Regions from separate parts of the Homo sapiens genome. Here regions 1 and 3 are each linked to region 2. Evidence: promoter capture Hi-C in human tissues and cell types (Jung and others, 2019). All regions are on one chromosome and are shown on one strand. Each heading gives the region's core, a stretch centred on a gene start or on the middle of the fragment in contact. The rest is flanking DNA. Distances are from core to core; before and after follow the strand shown. Region 1 overlaps ZBED6 (zinc finger BED-type containing 6). Region 2 holds the start of OPTC (opticin). Region 3 overlaps ZBED6 (zinc finger BED-type containing 6).

Region 1 (4,775 bases), core at 34-2,533, 360 kb after region 2:
TATTTTTAAAACGGCAGTTTTCTAATAATCTTTTTTTTCTTACAGTCTTGTGCTGCCTCCAACCCAGTCCTCTTCAGATTCCTCACCCCCGGAGGTGTCTGGCCCTTCCTCATCCCAAATGAGCATGAAAACTCGCCGACTCAGCTCTGCCTCAACAGGAAAGCCCCCACTCTCTGTGGAGGATGATTTTGAGAAACTAATATGGGAGATTTCAGGAGGCAAATTGGAAGCTGAGATTGACCTGGATCCTGGGAAAGATGAAGATGACCTTCTGCTTGAGCTATCAGAAATGATTGATAGCTGAAGGTGGTAGTGAGGACACTTTAAAAAAAAAATCGCCAAAAAACTGGACTTAGTTTCATCTATTGTAACATTTACCTGAGATGATCATTTCTTTAGTCTAGAATTTGCCCCAAATCAGAAGTATACCTCTGAATTATCTGTATGTGTCCTGGATTCCTTGGGGTCAGATTTTTAAAGTTACTTTATAACCATTTTGTCCATTTGATGCCATTGTTTATCATCTTTTGAGAAAAAAGTTCTGTCATACCCTTCTCTCCACAAAAAAGAGACTGAGAGGGAGATCAAGTGAAAGGGTGCAAGCGAACTTAGTGACTCCTTGAGGTGTTTGTCAGTTTTGGCTTTTTTCTTCTTTGTTGTATTCTTTATGTATTGTCTTGATGTACTTAATATTACCTGAGTTTGAAATGGATGAAGACAGCTGCTACCATTAAGGACCAAATTTTATGCTACCACTAAACAAAAATACCCACTCAGTCTGTGTTAAATTGTATGTCTTTTTAAAGGTATTTAAAGATTCAACTAAGCTTTAAAGAGGGCTGAGCAGCTCAGGAAGCCTGTAATGTGGGCATAACTCTTTGGACCTGATCTTGATGCTTCTGCTGCTCTGTTAGCCTCTGAAGAGCAATATCTAATTTATTATTACTGTAATTTTTTAAAAGGCTTTAAAGTGCCTCAGGGGTCCCCTGAAACTAATTTTCTATTTCTGGGATTCCCTGGATTCATTATATGAGATGGTGACATGATTAGAGGAATTCTTTTTTAGTATGAAAATTGTCCTTTTTCTTCTTCAGTACTTGCCTCCTTGCTGGCATTGAATTAACACAGGGACAAAATTTGGTTAATTTTTTATTTCTAACTCTCCCAACAAACCCCTGTTGCCCAGTATTTGTTTGGTGGCCTTTAACCACCTGAGGGAAAAAATGAGCTTATTCAAGCTGCCAATATTTATCTATGGGCTGTAGCAGTACACTGAATTGTACTGTGCCAGGGATATTGAGATGCTCTGGGGGTGTATTGTATACCTGCCAGTTTTCTTCATTTCTGAATTGAGTTTTCTTTTCTTGATGTTGGTTTCCTTCATATCACCTCAAGGTTTAGATTTGTGAAGGAATAAGCATGATGGAAATAATAGTCTTGAAAGGAGATATGTTGTATATAATCAGGAGGAAGAGGAAGGAAGGACTTACCCATTTTGATATTTTGCTGTAGGTGGCCAGTTTTGTTTCTCATAGGGAAATCTGACCCACCTGTCATGTTGGCTCCTAAGGAACTGCTGTTGTAAGCGGCTCATCAAGAGTTGAACTTCACGTAGCCTTGTTGGGAATATGGAAAAGGAAGAAAGCCACAGGACTGCCCATTCAGTCTTGGGAAGATTGGGATGATTCTGCACAAGCAAAAATGACTGAAGTTTATGTATAGACACACCTCTACCAATCCATCTTCAGCTGACTGAATGTTGTATGATAGCCCTTCTCCAAAGCAGAGGTAGAATGTTCAGGTTTCACCATGGATTTTCTACTTATTTCGTTTTTGGAATCAGCTTACAGATTCCAGGTCCCTTTTGTATATATTCTTTATTCTTTTGCTTTTTTAAAAAATAATTTTGTTTCATATTTAAAGCACTTGTATTAGTCAATGTTTCGTGTTCCGCATTATTTGAACCATTTGCCCTTACAGAAAGAGAAATACTTGTTTGTGTTTTAAATAAAACTGATGTAGGAAAGTCTTGATGTTGTGAGCTAAGTAATCTTACATCATCATATCAGCCTGGGATCCATCTTGACAAGAGACCCCAGACAGAATGCTATTGGCCTTTCGTGTAAGTGCCCGAATTTCAGTTATTATTTGGCTTAGAAACCTTTCATCTGGATATATTGCCAAATTTACAAGTGTGCTCAATTTTAGCTGCATATGCTTTAGGTAAGAATTTATATTATTATAATGTGAGGATTTTTTTTCTGACACGGATACTTACTCCTTAGTGTTGTAACTCAAGCAATGCCATTAAGTTTTTAAAAGGAGGGAGGGTTTAAAAGTGATCTTAGGGAGTCTCTCTGGGCCTACTCTGGCTCAAGAGGCTGATAAAAAATAAATAAATGAATAAACTTGATCTTTAGAGTCAACGATTTAGAATTTTCAAGCATGAAGGTGCAGCAGATAAGAAATTTAATTTATAGAAGTCCAGGTTTCTTAATATGTGTGCCAATTTTTAAAATTGTAGGAAAGTATATGTTTGTTAGCTACCAAAGAACATAGATTTTTCCTATTAGTCTAAAAGTCGTCCCAACAAGTTGAATCAACTTTTCACAAAAAGCAAAAGACTATAGTTTTGAATGATAGTTTTTCATTTTAACAGTAAGAAAAGGGCCCAAATATTCCAGTTTGGTTATAGCCAGAAATAAGATAGTTTTATGTTTCATATATTTTATCTCAAGATAATAATTCCTAAAGTTCTAGCCTTAACCCTAAATCTCAGTGGTTCTTCTTTAAAGCTAGAACATAGTGTGTTTTCATCTTGATCAGTATTTGAAAGATGAGACTGATGTTTACTAATTACAATTGCAGTAACAAAGCTTGATCTATTAATATATTGATCAGAGTTCCATGATCCTTTTCTAAAATGGTGGCTTTATTTTGCCAGAATAATTCTGCAGGGTGTTTTTTTTAAGACAGAGTCTCACTCTGTTGCCCAGGATAGAATGCAGAGTGGCACAATCTTGGCTCACTGCAACTCTTGCCTCCCAGTTTCAAGCGATTCTCCTGCCTCAGCCTCCTCAGTAGTTGGGATTACAGGGGTGCACCACCACACCTGGCTAATTTTTATATTTTTAGTAGAGACAGGATTTCACCATGTTGGCCAGGCTGGTCTGGAACCCCTGACCTCAAGTGATAGGCCTTCCTCGGCCTTCCAAAGTGCTGGGATTACAGGTTGTGAGCCACCACGCCCAGCCAACAGTTCTGCAGTTCTGTAAAGTATTTGATTGCTTTGAATTTGGCTGTAGCACAGGAAATACATGGTCTCCAGTTGTAACTGCTTAATAGGTAAAACTTAAATTAGCTAACATTTATTGAGTACTTATTGTGTATCTTTAATTCACGTCCTCATTTTGACACTAAATTATACAGTACATTAAAGATGACTATTCCCGCACTGAAGTTTCAGGGTCAGTATGTTTATATATTATGTGCCATTGGGTTTGATTAGTAGATCTTTTCAAGAGTGTTTTTTAAAATCATGACTTTATGAAGCTGCTCAGTAACTCTGAAAATTCCTACAACCCAGACATTTAACTGCATTAATAATTAAGACTCCAAACCGCAATTTATTTTGAATTTGCAAAAAGATATTAGTTAAGGGGCATGAACACAATTAAAATCCTTGACCATTCTCTTAAGTTTGTTCAATAAAGTGGGCAAAAAATAAGTAATGACCGTAAATAAGAACAGCAATCAAGAATTTAGTTTTACATTTAAAAAAAGTAATTTTGGCTGGGCACGGTGGCTCACGCCTGTAATCCCAGCACTTTGGGAGGCCGAGGTGGGTGGATCATCTGAGGTCAGAAGTTTGAGACCAGCCTGGCCAACATGGCAAAACCCCATCTTTACTGAAAGTACAAAAAAATTAGCCAGGCGGGGTGGCATGCACCTATAATCCCAGCTACTTGGGAGGCTGAGGCAGGAGAATTGTGTGAACCTGGAAGGCGGAGGTTACAGTGAGCCGAGATCAATCACCACTGCACTCCAGCCTGAGCAACAGGGCAAGACTCCATCTCAAAAAAATTTTTTTTGGATTTATATTTACTGAGAGGGTCTGTTACTAAGGTATTTAGATTTGGTTGGATTTAACTGCTAAAATGTTGTAGAGTCTGAATCTATGGCATGGTAAAGAATAATCACAGCCATTCAGCAAGTTGTGAAGCTTCTGGTTGGGATGAAAGAAACTTCAAGCTGAGAGGAAGAATGTTCTGAAATATTTGGGAGGTTTGGCAGACTCCTTTCTCAGGGGTATGTTCATTTGGGCCAGTGATTCTGAAGCCCACTTTGCAGATATCTTAGGTGTGTCATGAAGTTTTACAAGAACATTGTGAGTAGTTGCAATAACAAAAGGAAACAAATGTTTCATATTACTTTCCATTATCCGTGTCTCAGGTATTCTTCCAGAGATACTTTAGCCATGTGTAAGTGAATACACTTCCATACAATATCATGCGTAAAACACATGACATTCTGAACCCTGCCGTTTTTATTAAAGAAAATTTCAAATGTATTTAGAATTAAAGTATAATAAACTCCACATAGTCACCCAGTTTCAACAATTGCAGATTCATGGCCAATCCTCTCTTCTTTACCTTACCAACTATCCATCACCCCCTATTCTGACCTACTTGACTGGGCTGAGGGTGAGGCAAGCAAGGTATTGGGCACAATTTAAGGAGGCACTCACTTTTCAAGGCTTGTATTTGCACATGTGA
Region 2 (4,384 bases), core at 867-3,366:
ATGCGAGCCTGAGTCTGGATGTGGCTCCTGCAGGGAGTGGGGGGAGCAGGTGTGTATGCATTGGGGAGGAACGATGGTGGGGGTGTGGCAACCAAGCAGGGATGGCAGGAGCGTATGTCTCTGGGAAAGCAGGGAGGGAGAGTGGGAGCAGGCGGCAGGGAGAGTGAATGAACACTCGCATTTGCATTTCTCCCAGGAATAAATGTGTGGGGTGGGAGCGGGGAGATTGCCTAGGCTGGCTGTGGGGGTGGAGGGCCTCTGGCTGCAAAGCCCAGGCTGTGGAGAGAAGATGGAGGCATACAGCCCGCCAAATGTGCCATCTGCCTACTGGATGCCCTCCAGGATCCAGGGCTATCTTTCCCTCCACCCAGCAGAGCCTCTGATGGTGTCTTTTCCCAGGTGGGGGGCTGCCAGGGGTACAAGAACATGCTCTTCTCTGGTGACCAGGCTCTTGGGCTGAGGGAAGCCCCCTCTTGCACCAGCTGGAGCCCAGGAACACAGCAAGCCAAATGCTGCCCTCGAGGGCCAGGCTATTAGATCTGCCTCTTCACCTGGTGTGCCAGGGCAGAGATGAGTTCTGCCAAGCCATCTGCTCTGAGGGCCTGGAAACACACGGATTCAGGACTCCTGGGGAAGAAGGTGGAAATGGGGAGGGTCATATGAACTAAAGAAAACTCTCTGACCAGGGAGTCAAAAAATCTAGGCATTGGCCCTGGCTCTGTGTGACCTAGGGCAAGTCACGTCACCTCTTTGGGCCTCACTCTCCTCATCTATACCACAAGGACTTGGACTAGATCTTTAGGGGGCCTCACAGCTGGAATTCAGTATCTGGTTGGTGGAAAGGAGTAGGGAACAAGGAGAGTCACTGAGAAACCTGGGTGGGCGCCAGGGCACAGGCTGGCAGAAGCTGGGGAAGACTCCTTAGCCACCCCACCTCTGCCTTCAGCAAGGACTTGCTCGGCAGCCTGCTCGAGGCACCAAGGAAAGGGGAGTGTTTCCAGATGAATGCCGTTGGCCCTCTGTATCTGTGGGTTCCACATCCGTGGATTCAACCAACCACAGATTGAAAATATTCAGAAAAAAAAAAAATTCACAACGTTCCAAAAAGGAAAACTTGAATTTGCTGTGTGCCAGTACTATGTGGAATCCATGTGAATGGAGTGAGGTGTAAGCATTGTGTTTGGTGTTATAGGTAATCTAGAGATGATTTGAAGTACACAGGAGGATGTGCGTAGGTTATGTGCAAATTCACCATTTTATATAAAAGACCTCAGCATATGTGGATTTGGTATCCACTGGACGTGCAGAACCAATCCCCCATGGTTACTGAGGGACGACTGTACATCTCTGAGGGTGCGGGAGAGGATACTTCCCAGGCCCCCGAGACCCTACACAATGTCTACTGGTGTTTATGATCCTTTCTAGGGCCCACCTCCCAATTTCCATTTGGTTTCCTCCTAGCAGATTTAGAGAATTTCCCGTATCCTCATGATCATCATCTGTGAACTTGAAGTTGGCTTTCAAATCCGATCTCATCCCCCATACACCTTCTCTTTGAACTACCTAGGCCTGCAGCTCCTGTCTCTGGTGATTTTATTCAATTATGGTCTCTGTGCTGGCGCTCTAGGTGAGGGTGAAGTGCCTCATTTCCACCTATTTTTATCTTTGGATTCTGGCTATGAAGCTGAAGCCTTGTCACTCTCTGGCTGGAGAAAGAAGCTGCAAAGACAAGCTCTATCTCTCCATATCCCCCGACTCCAGCCTTCTCTGAGGACTCAGAATCTGAGGGATGGGGCCCCTTCCTTGCAGGGGATGGCACTCCCTGTTCCTCAAAGATGTGGCCTTATCAGGAGAGTGGACAAGGAAAAGAAAGAAGGAGCTGACAGAGTAAGAGGAGAGAGAGCAGGAGCTGGAGGTGGGGGGTGAAGCGGAAGGTGGGGGGAGAATTCTCTTTTGTCAAATACAGGAATGGGGCAGGGGACCCCCTGAGGAAAGAGGAGGGGAAACAGCTGGACATCAGAAGGAATGAGAAGTCTGATTGGTCGCAGGCCTGGCCAACTCCTTGCCCTCCCCCGGGCACCACTGTCTAACCCAAGCCCCAGTTCAGACAGCCTCCACCAGAGTCCCCACCTTTCTGGAAGCTGCAGGGCTCTCCATCCAGGATCCAGAAGCATTGAAGGGGTAAGGCTCAAGGTTGAGGCCTCTGGCCATCGGTGCGCAAATGAGGGCAAAGTGTTTGGCTGGGGCAGGGGATTGGGAAGGGAAAATGAAGAGAGTTTAGGCCTCTGGCCAAAGAAGTTGGACAAGACTTTTGGGTGGGCACTAAACTCTCTTAGAAAAATTTTTTTTGAGATTATGTAATTCGTTTGGGGTGAGGTATGGGAGGTAAGGTGAAGAAACACCTCTTGCTACTGCTAGAGGCTTGCCCCCTTGCCCAGCTAAAATTAAGAAAGGGTGGGGAGGTTAACTGGGCATGGTAACACACGCCTGTAGTCCCAGCTACTTGGGAGGCTGAGGCAGGAGGACTGCCTGAGCCCAGGAGGTTAAGGCTTCAGTGAGCTGAGATCATGCCATAACACTCCAGGCTGGGCAACAGAGTGACACCGTCTTAAAAATAGAAAATAAAATAAAAATTAAAAGATAAAAAAAATTTTAAAAGAAAGAAAGAGGGAGAGTCTACTAGAAACTTGTGCAGCTAGCTTTGGGGAGGGCTGTGTTAAGCCTACACTGGGTATGACTGTTGTATACACTTATGCCTGGATACAAAACCACACCACATGCATTTCCTGACCCGTCTATACATATACGAACTACATGAACATTTGTACTCACATGCATATCACATACATACGCAGGCATCTGTGTGCACACACACACAAATATACACAGGTATCTAAGGAAATTTCCAGATGCGTACACACTCATGCAATCACACACAAAGAACTCTTTTATCTGTAATAATCTGTTTCTAAAAAGCTGCATTTAGAAGTATATTTCATAAACTAACATTCTTTTTTACATTGTATGTTTCATTGTAAGTCCATGTCTCCTAAAGAGACTAGGTGCTCCTAGGAAGGGCTGTGCCTCATTCATTCTGTACCCACAGAGACAAGTCCTGTGCCTGGAACTCAATAGACACCCATAAATGTTTGTTGAGCAAATGCATGAATGGATGATCTTTATAAAAAACCACAAGAGTCAACTGGGCGCGGTGGCTCACACCTGTAATTCCAGCACTTTGGGAAGCCAGGGTGGGTGGATCACCTAAGGTCAGGAGTTCGACACCAGCCTGGCCAATATGGTGAAACCCCTTCTCTACTAAAAATACAAAAATTAGCCAGGCATGGTGGGTGCCTGTAATCCCAGCTACTCAGGAGGCTGAGGCAGGAGATTCGCTTGAACCCAGAAGGCGGAGGTTGCAGTGAGCCAAGATCGCACCACTGCACTCCAGCCCGGGAAACAAGAATGAAACTTCGTCTCAAAAAAACAAACAAACAAAAAGACCCCATAAGATTATTTGATGTTGACATTCTCTAAATCGAGCTTAGTGACTAGCAGTCATGTTCTGAGCATGGGGTTGTTTAAGAGAGGACATCTGTGTGCATGCACCAGTGTGTGCCTCGTTTGTAAACAAGGGGACTCTTGTGAATGTGTCTGTGTTGAGATGTGTCTGCACATGCCTCTGTGAGTGAATATCAGTGTTTGGGTGAGCGTGTAAAAACACTCAAGTGGGGCGGTGGAGGGAGGGGGCTGCTAGGAGATACCCCCCAAGACATAGTCCCAGCTGGTAGGGAATTTGTGCATGTGATGAGAGCACTGAGTCTGCAAGTGTGGGGGTGGGAAGTGGAGTAAATCTGCGAGCCATTCCCACAACACTCTGGAGAGCCTGTCCCTCAGATCGCTGCCCTTCCTCGTGCCCACTTGCCAGGACCAGCCGCTGAAGGGATTCTCAGTCCCATCTGACTCCCCATGAGGCTCCTGGCTTTCCTGAGTCTGCTGGCCTTGGTGCTGCAGGAGACAGGGACAGCTTCTCTCCCAAGGAAGGAGAGGAAGAGGAGAGAGGAGCAGATGCCCAGGGAAGGCGATTCCTTTGAAGTTCTGCCTCTGCGGAATGATGTCCTGAACCCAGACAACTATGGTGAAGTCATTGACCTGAGCAACTATGAGGAGCTCACAGATTATGGGGACCAACTCCCCGAGGTGAGGGACACAGCAGACCAACTACATTCCCTGCATGACACTGGGAGTCAGAGGCCAGGGCCCTCCCATCTGCCCCAAAGTGCGGGTGTCTCCAGCCTCCACCTCTTTCTCTGTGAGGTGGAAATTCTTATCCCTCCATAGGGACTTGTCACTTAGATGATACTAAGAAACAGGACACAAACCT
Region 3 (4,528 bases), core at 1,356-3,855, 320 kb after region 2:
CCTTTAAAACTTGCTGAGAGCATGAAGATTTTAAAATAATATGTCCTTTTTCCTACATTAACTTCTAGAGAGTGGGTTGAGAAAGGTCCCATTATTTTTCTTGGCTTCATATTTTCAAACGGTTATTTTCTGTTGAAAAGTAACCAGGTTAACCGGGTGCGGTGGCTCACGGCTGTAATCCTAGCACTTTGTGAGGCTGAGATGGGCAGATCACTTGAGGTCAGGAGTTCGAGACCAATCTGGCCAACATGGTGAAACCCCGTCTCTACTAAAAATACAAAAATTAGCCAGGCATGGTGGCAGGCGCCTGTAATTCCAGCTACTCGGGAGGGTGAGGCAGGAGAATTGCTTGAACCCAGGAGGTGGAGGTTGCAGTAAGTCAAGATCACGCAACTGCACTCCAGGTTTGGGCAACAGAGCGAGACTCTCTCAAAAATAACAAAACTAAACAAAAAAAAGTAACTGGGTTTTTCTTGGCAACCTAGATACTTTTTTTTTCCTTTTAAACTTAAGAAATTTATGGATGTGCATCTTTGTTTTGTGTTTTTGCATGGGATAGTATTGATTATAAAGTCATTGGAGCATCATTTAAAAGCTGGAGTGGTGTTTTTTTTGTTTTTGTTTTTTGTTTTTTTTTTAAGAGATGAGGTCTGTCTGTTGCCCAGGCTGTTCTTGAACTCCTGGTCTCAAGTGATCCTCTTGCCTTGGTCTCTCAAAGTGTTAGGATTATAGGCATGAGCCACTGCACCTGGCCTTGCCGTTTTCTTGAATGGCAATTATATTTGTTTTTATCCTAGTGAAAGTTACAGAAGCTTAGTGTATAAAGATGATATATAAAGAAACTTTTCTTTTTTTCTTTATCTCTTATTTCCTTTTTCTTGTTTTACATTGTAGCTGTTAGGTTTTTTTTTTTTTTGAGACAGAGTCTCACTCTGTCGCCCAGGCTAGAGTGCAGTGGCGCGATCTCAGCTCACTGCAACCTGCACCTCTGGGGTTCACACCATTCTCCTGCCTCAGCCTCCAGAGTAGCTGGGACCACAGGCGCCCACCACCACGCCCAGCTAATTTTTTGTATTTTTAGTAGAGATGGGGTTTCACAGTGTCAGCCAGGATGGTCTCGATCTCCTGACCTCGTGATCCACCCGCCTCGGACTCCCAAAATGCTGGGAATACAGGCGTGAGCCACCGCGCCCGGCCAGCTCTTAGATCTGACGAAGGAGTTTTTTCTGTTGAAACATTAGTAAGGGAGTGTTATCTACTCAGGATTCCATTTCTCCACACTCTGCCCAACTTTGAGGGCTCTTTGCAGAAAATGATTTGAAAATTAGTTGTGGGCCAGACGCTCACGCCTGTAATCCCAGCACTTTGAGAGGTTGAGGCGGGCAGATGACCTGAGGTCAGGAGTTTCACACCAGCCTGGCCACTATGGTGAAACTCCATCTCTACTAAAAATACAAAAAAAAAAAAAAATTAGCAGGGTATGGTGGTAGGCGCCTGTAATCCCAGTTACTTGGGAGGCTGAGGCAAGAGAATCGCTTGAAACCAGAAGGTGGAGGTTGCAATGAGCCGAGATTGCGCCACTGCACTCCAGCAGCCTGGGTAGAAGAGTGAAACTCTGTCACAAAAAAAAAAAAAAAAAAGCCAAGTGTGGTGGTGGGCACCTGTAATTCCAGCTACTTGGGAGGCTGAGGCAGGCGACTCACTTGAACCCAGGAGGTGGAGGTTGCAGTCAGCTGAGGTCGTGCCATTGCACTTCAGCCTGGGCAACAAGAGCAAAACTCGAAACTCCGTCTCCAGATAAATAAATAAATAAAATTAGTTGCCAAAAAATTGTAAATTCTGCTGTGTCTTTGCATTTCATAGCTACCATTTCATTGTTTCAATTACTTTGTTGCTGGTCTTTCTAAAACCGGTAACAGTTTCAAATATGTTCTTTGGAATATTGATTTTGTGAGTGAGATTGACCTCTAAGCCTTTTATTCCCCTTAAAAACTTTTTTTTTCTGGAGGCAGAATCTTGCTCTGTTGCCTAGTCTGGAGTGCAGTGGCAAGATTGTGGCTCACTGCAACCTCTGCCCCCTGGATTCAAGCGATTCTTGTACATTAGCCTCCCGAGTAGCTGAGACTACAGTTGTGGGCTACCACGCCTGGCTAATTTTTTGTATTTTCAGTAGAGATGGGATTTTGCCATGTTGGCCAGGCTGGTCTTGAACTCTTGACCTCAAATGACTTTTTTTATTATTAAACTTTTTCCTTTGTTGCATATATGTCTGAAAAGTATTCAGATAGCTTTGTCTTTTTCTTTTTTTTTTTTTTTAGACAGGTCTCACTGTCACCCAGGCTGGAGTGCAGTAGTGTGATCTTGGTTCACTGCAACCTCCACCTCCTGTGTTCAAGTGATTCTCACACCTCAGCCTCCTGAGTAGCTGGGACTATAGATGTGTGCCACCATGCTTGGCTAATTTTTATATTTTTTGATAGAGACGAGGTTTCACCATGTTGGCCAGGCTGGTCTTGAACTACTGACCTCAAGTGATCCACCCACCTCGGCCTCCCAAAGTGCTGGGATTACATGTATGAGTCACCACACTGGGCCTTAACTTTCATTTTAAATTCAGGGGTACATGTGCAGGATGTGCAGGTTTGTTACACAGGTAAATGTGTGTCGTGGGGGTTTGTTGTACAGATTATTTCATCACCCAGGTATTAAGCCTAGTATCTATTAGTTGTTTTTCCTGATCCTCTCCCTCCTCCCACCTTCTACCTTCTGATAGGCTCCAGTGTTTGTTGTTCCCCTCTATGTGTCCAAGTGTTCTCAGCATTTAGCTCCCACTTATAAGTGAGAACATGCTGTATTTGGTTTCCTGTTTCTGCATTAGTTTGCTAAGGATAATAGCCTCTGGCTCCATTCATGTCCCTGCAAAGGACATGATTTTGTTCCTTTTTATTGGATGCATACTATTCCATGTTTTGTGTTTTTTTCAGACTTCTGTCTTGTTGCTTCCCATCCTCACCAGCATTTAGTGCTTTCAGTATTTTGGATTTTAGCCATTCTAAATTTTTTTTTTTTTTTTTTTTTGAGACGGAGTCTCACTCTGTTGCCCAGGCTGGAGTATAGTGGCATGATCTCGGCTCACTGCAGCCTCTGCCTCCTAGGTTCAAACGATTCTCCTGTTTTTGCCTCCTGAGTAGCTGGGATTACAGGTGTGTGCTACCACGGCCAGCTAATTTTTGTATTTTTAGTAGAGATGGGGTCTCACCATGTTTGCCAAGCTCGTCTTGAACTCCTGACCTCAGATGACCCACCTGCCTCGGCCTCCCAAAGTGCTGGGATTACAAGTGTGAGCCACTGTGCCCAAATGGATTTTAGCCATTAGAAAAGGAATTTGCAATCCCTAATGATGCATGATGTTGGGCAAGATTTCAAATGCTTATTTTCCATCTGTATACCTTCTTTGGTGAGGTACCTGTTCAGATCTTTTGCCTTTTTGAATTGGGGAGTTGTTTTCTTATTTTTGAGTTTCAAGAGTTATATATTTTGTATATCAGACCTTATCAGTTATGTTTTGCAAATATTTTCTCCCAGCCTGTGGCTTTTTCATTCTTTCTTAAGCTTCTTAACAGAGCTTTCACAGAGCAGACCTTTTTAATTTTAATGAACTCCAATTTAATGTTTTTTTGTTTTTTGTTTTTTGTTTTTTTTTGGATGGAGTTTTGCTCTTGTTGCCTAGGCTGGAGTGCAGTGGTGTGATCTCAGCTCACTGCAACCTCCGCCTCCCAGGTTCAAGCAATTCTCTTGCCTCAGCCTCCTCAGTAGCTGGGATCACAGGCATTCACCACCATGCCTGGCTAAATTTTAATGGTTTTTATTGAAAACCAATTTATTGGTTTTCTTTTGTATTTAAGTTGTTATCCATGTTATTTTTTGTGAAAAGTATAAAGTCTGTGTCTAAAATTATTTTTTTATATGTGGATATCCATTTGTTCCAGTAACATATGTTGAAAAGACTATCCTTTTCCCCTTTGTCAAAGGTCATTTGACTATGCTTGTTATCTGTATTAGTTCCTAGGACTTCCATAACAAAGTATCACAAACTGGGTAGCTACAGAAGTTTGTTGTCTCACAATTCTGAAGGTGAGATGTCTAAAATGTTTTCAGCAGGGCCATTCTCCCTCTGAAGCCTGTAGAGGAATGATCCTTACCCATTCTGGCTTCTGGTGTTTGTTGGCAATCCTTGGCATTCCTTGGTTTGTAGATGCATCACTCCAGCCACATGGTCATCTTCTCCTTGTGTGTCTTCTCATCACATTCCCTCTGTACATGTCTGTCTCTTTCATTTTAAGCTGGCAACATTTTTTGCTAAGATGGTTGCCTGAATCTAGTCACACACCTAATCTCCAACAAACTGTTGCCCACCCATACCCTTTTCTCTACAGAGCATACATTCTTGTTTTTTTTTTTTGCAATATGGATAGAGTGAGAATTTTCTAAATTTTCAAGTTCAGATTCTTTATTCCTTTTTGCTTCA

Evidence for each region. The method cuts DNA at HindIII sites, captures the fragments that hold promoters and counts their contacts. A contact is called where the count stands out against the background at its distance.
Region 1: a contact is called between a fragment that was not itself captured here and the fragment with the promoter of OPTC in region 2, in 2 of the 25 tissues and cell types used here (hippocampus and spleen).
Region 3: a contact is called between a fragment that was not itself captured here and the fragment with the promoter of OPTC in region 2, in 2 of the 25 tissues and cell types used here (H1 embryonic stem cells and IMR-90 fibroblasts).

Annotation. Positions count from the first base shown.
Region 1 is chr1:203,852,096-203,856,870 of GRCh38, forward strand. ZBED6 (zinc finger BED-type containing 6) reads left to right here. Exons shown (of 17, transcript NM_001395895.1): 17 at 46-2,029. It overlaps ZC3H11A (zinc finger CCCH-type containing 11A), which reads left to right. Exons shown (of 18, transcript NM_001376342.1): 18 at 46-2,029. The coding sequence ends at 304. Among named protein-coding and RNA genes, the nearest start is that of SNRPE, 7.1 kb to the right of the region's middle. The HindIII fragment of the contact is 4,531 bases long and covers 1-3,549 here.
Region 2 is chr1:203,492,037-203,496,420 of GRCh38, forward strand. OPTC (opticin) reads left to right here and starts at 2,117. Exons shown (of 8, transcript NM_014359.4): 1 at 2,117-2,181; 2 at 3,929-4,200. The coding sequence starts at 3,970. RefSeq lists an enhancer at 1-222 and a silencer at 1,610-1,838. The HindIII fragment of the contact is 22,199 bases long and covers 1-4,384 here.
Region 3 is chr1:203,809,522-203,814,049 of GRCh38, forward strand. The region is part of intron 1 of ZBED6 (zinc finger BED-type containing 6); the gene reads left to right. The region is part of intron 2 of ZC3H11A (zinc finger CCCH-type containing 11A); the gene reads left to right. Among named protein-coding and RNA genes, the nearest start is that of ZC3H11A, 16 kb to the left of the region's middle. The HindIII fragment of the contact is 4,767 bases long and covers 223-4,528 here.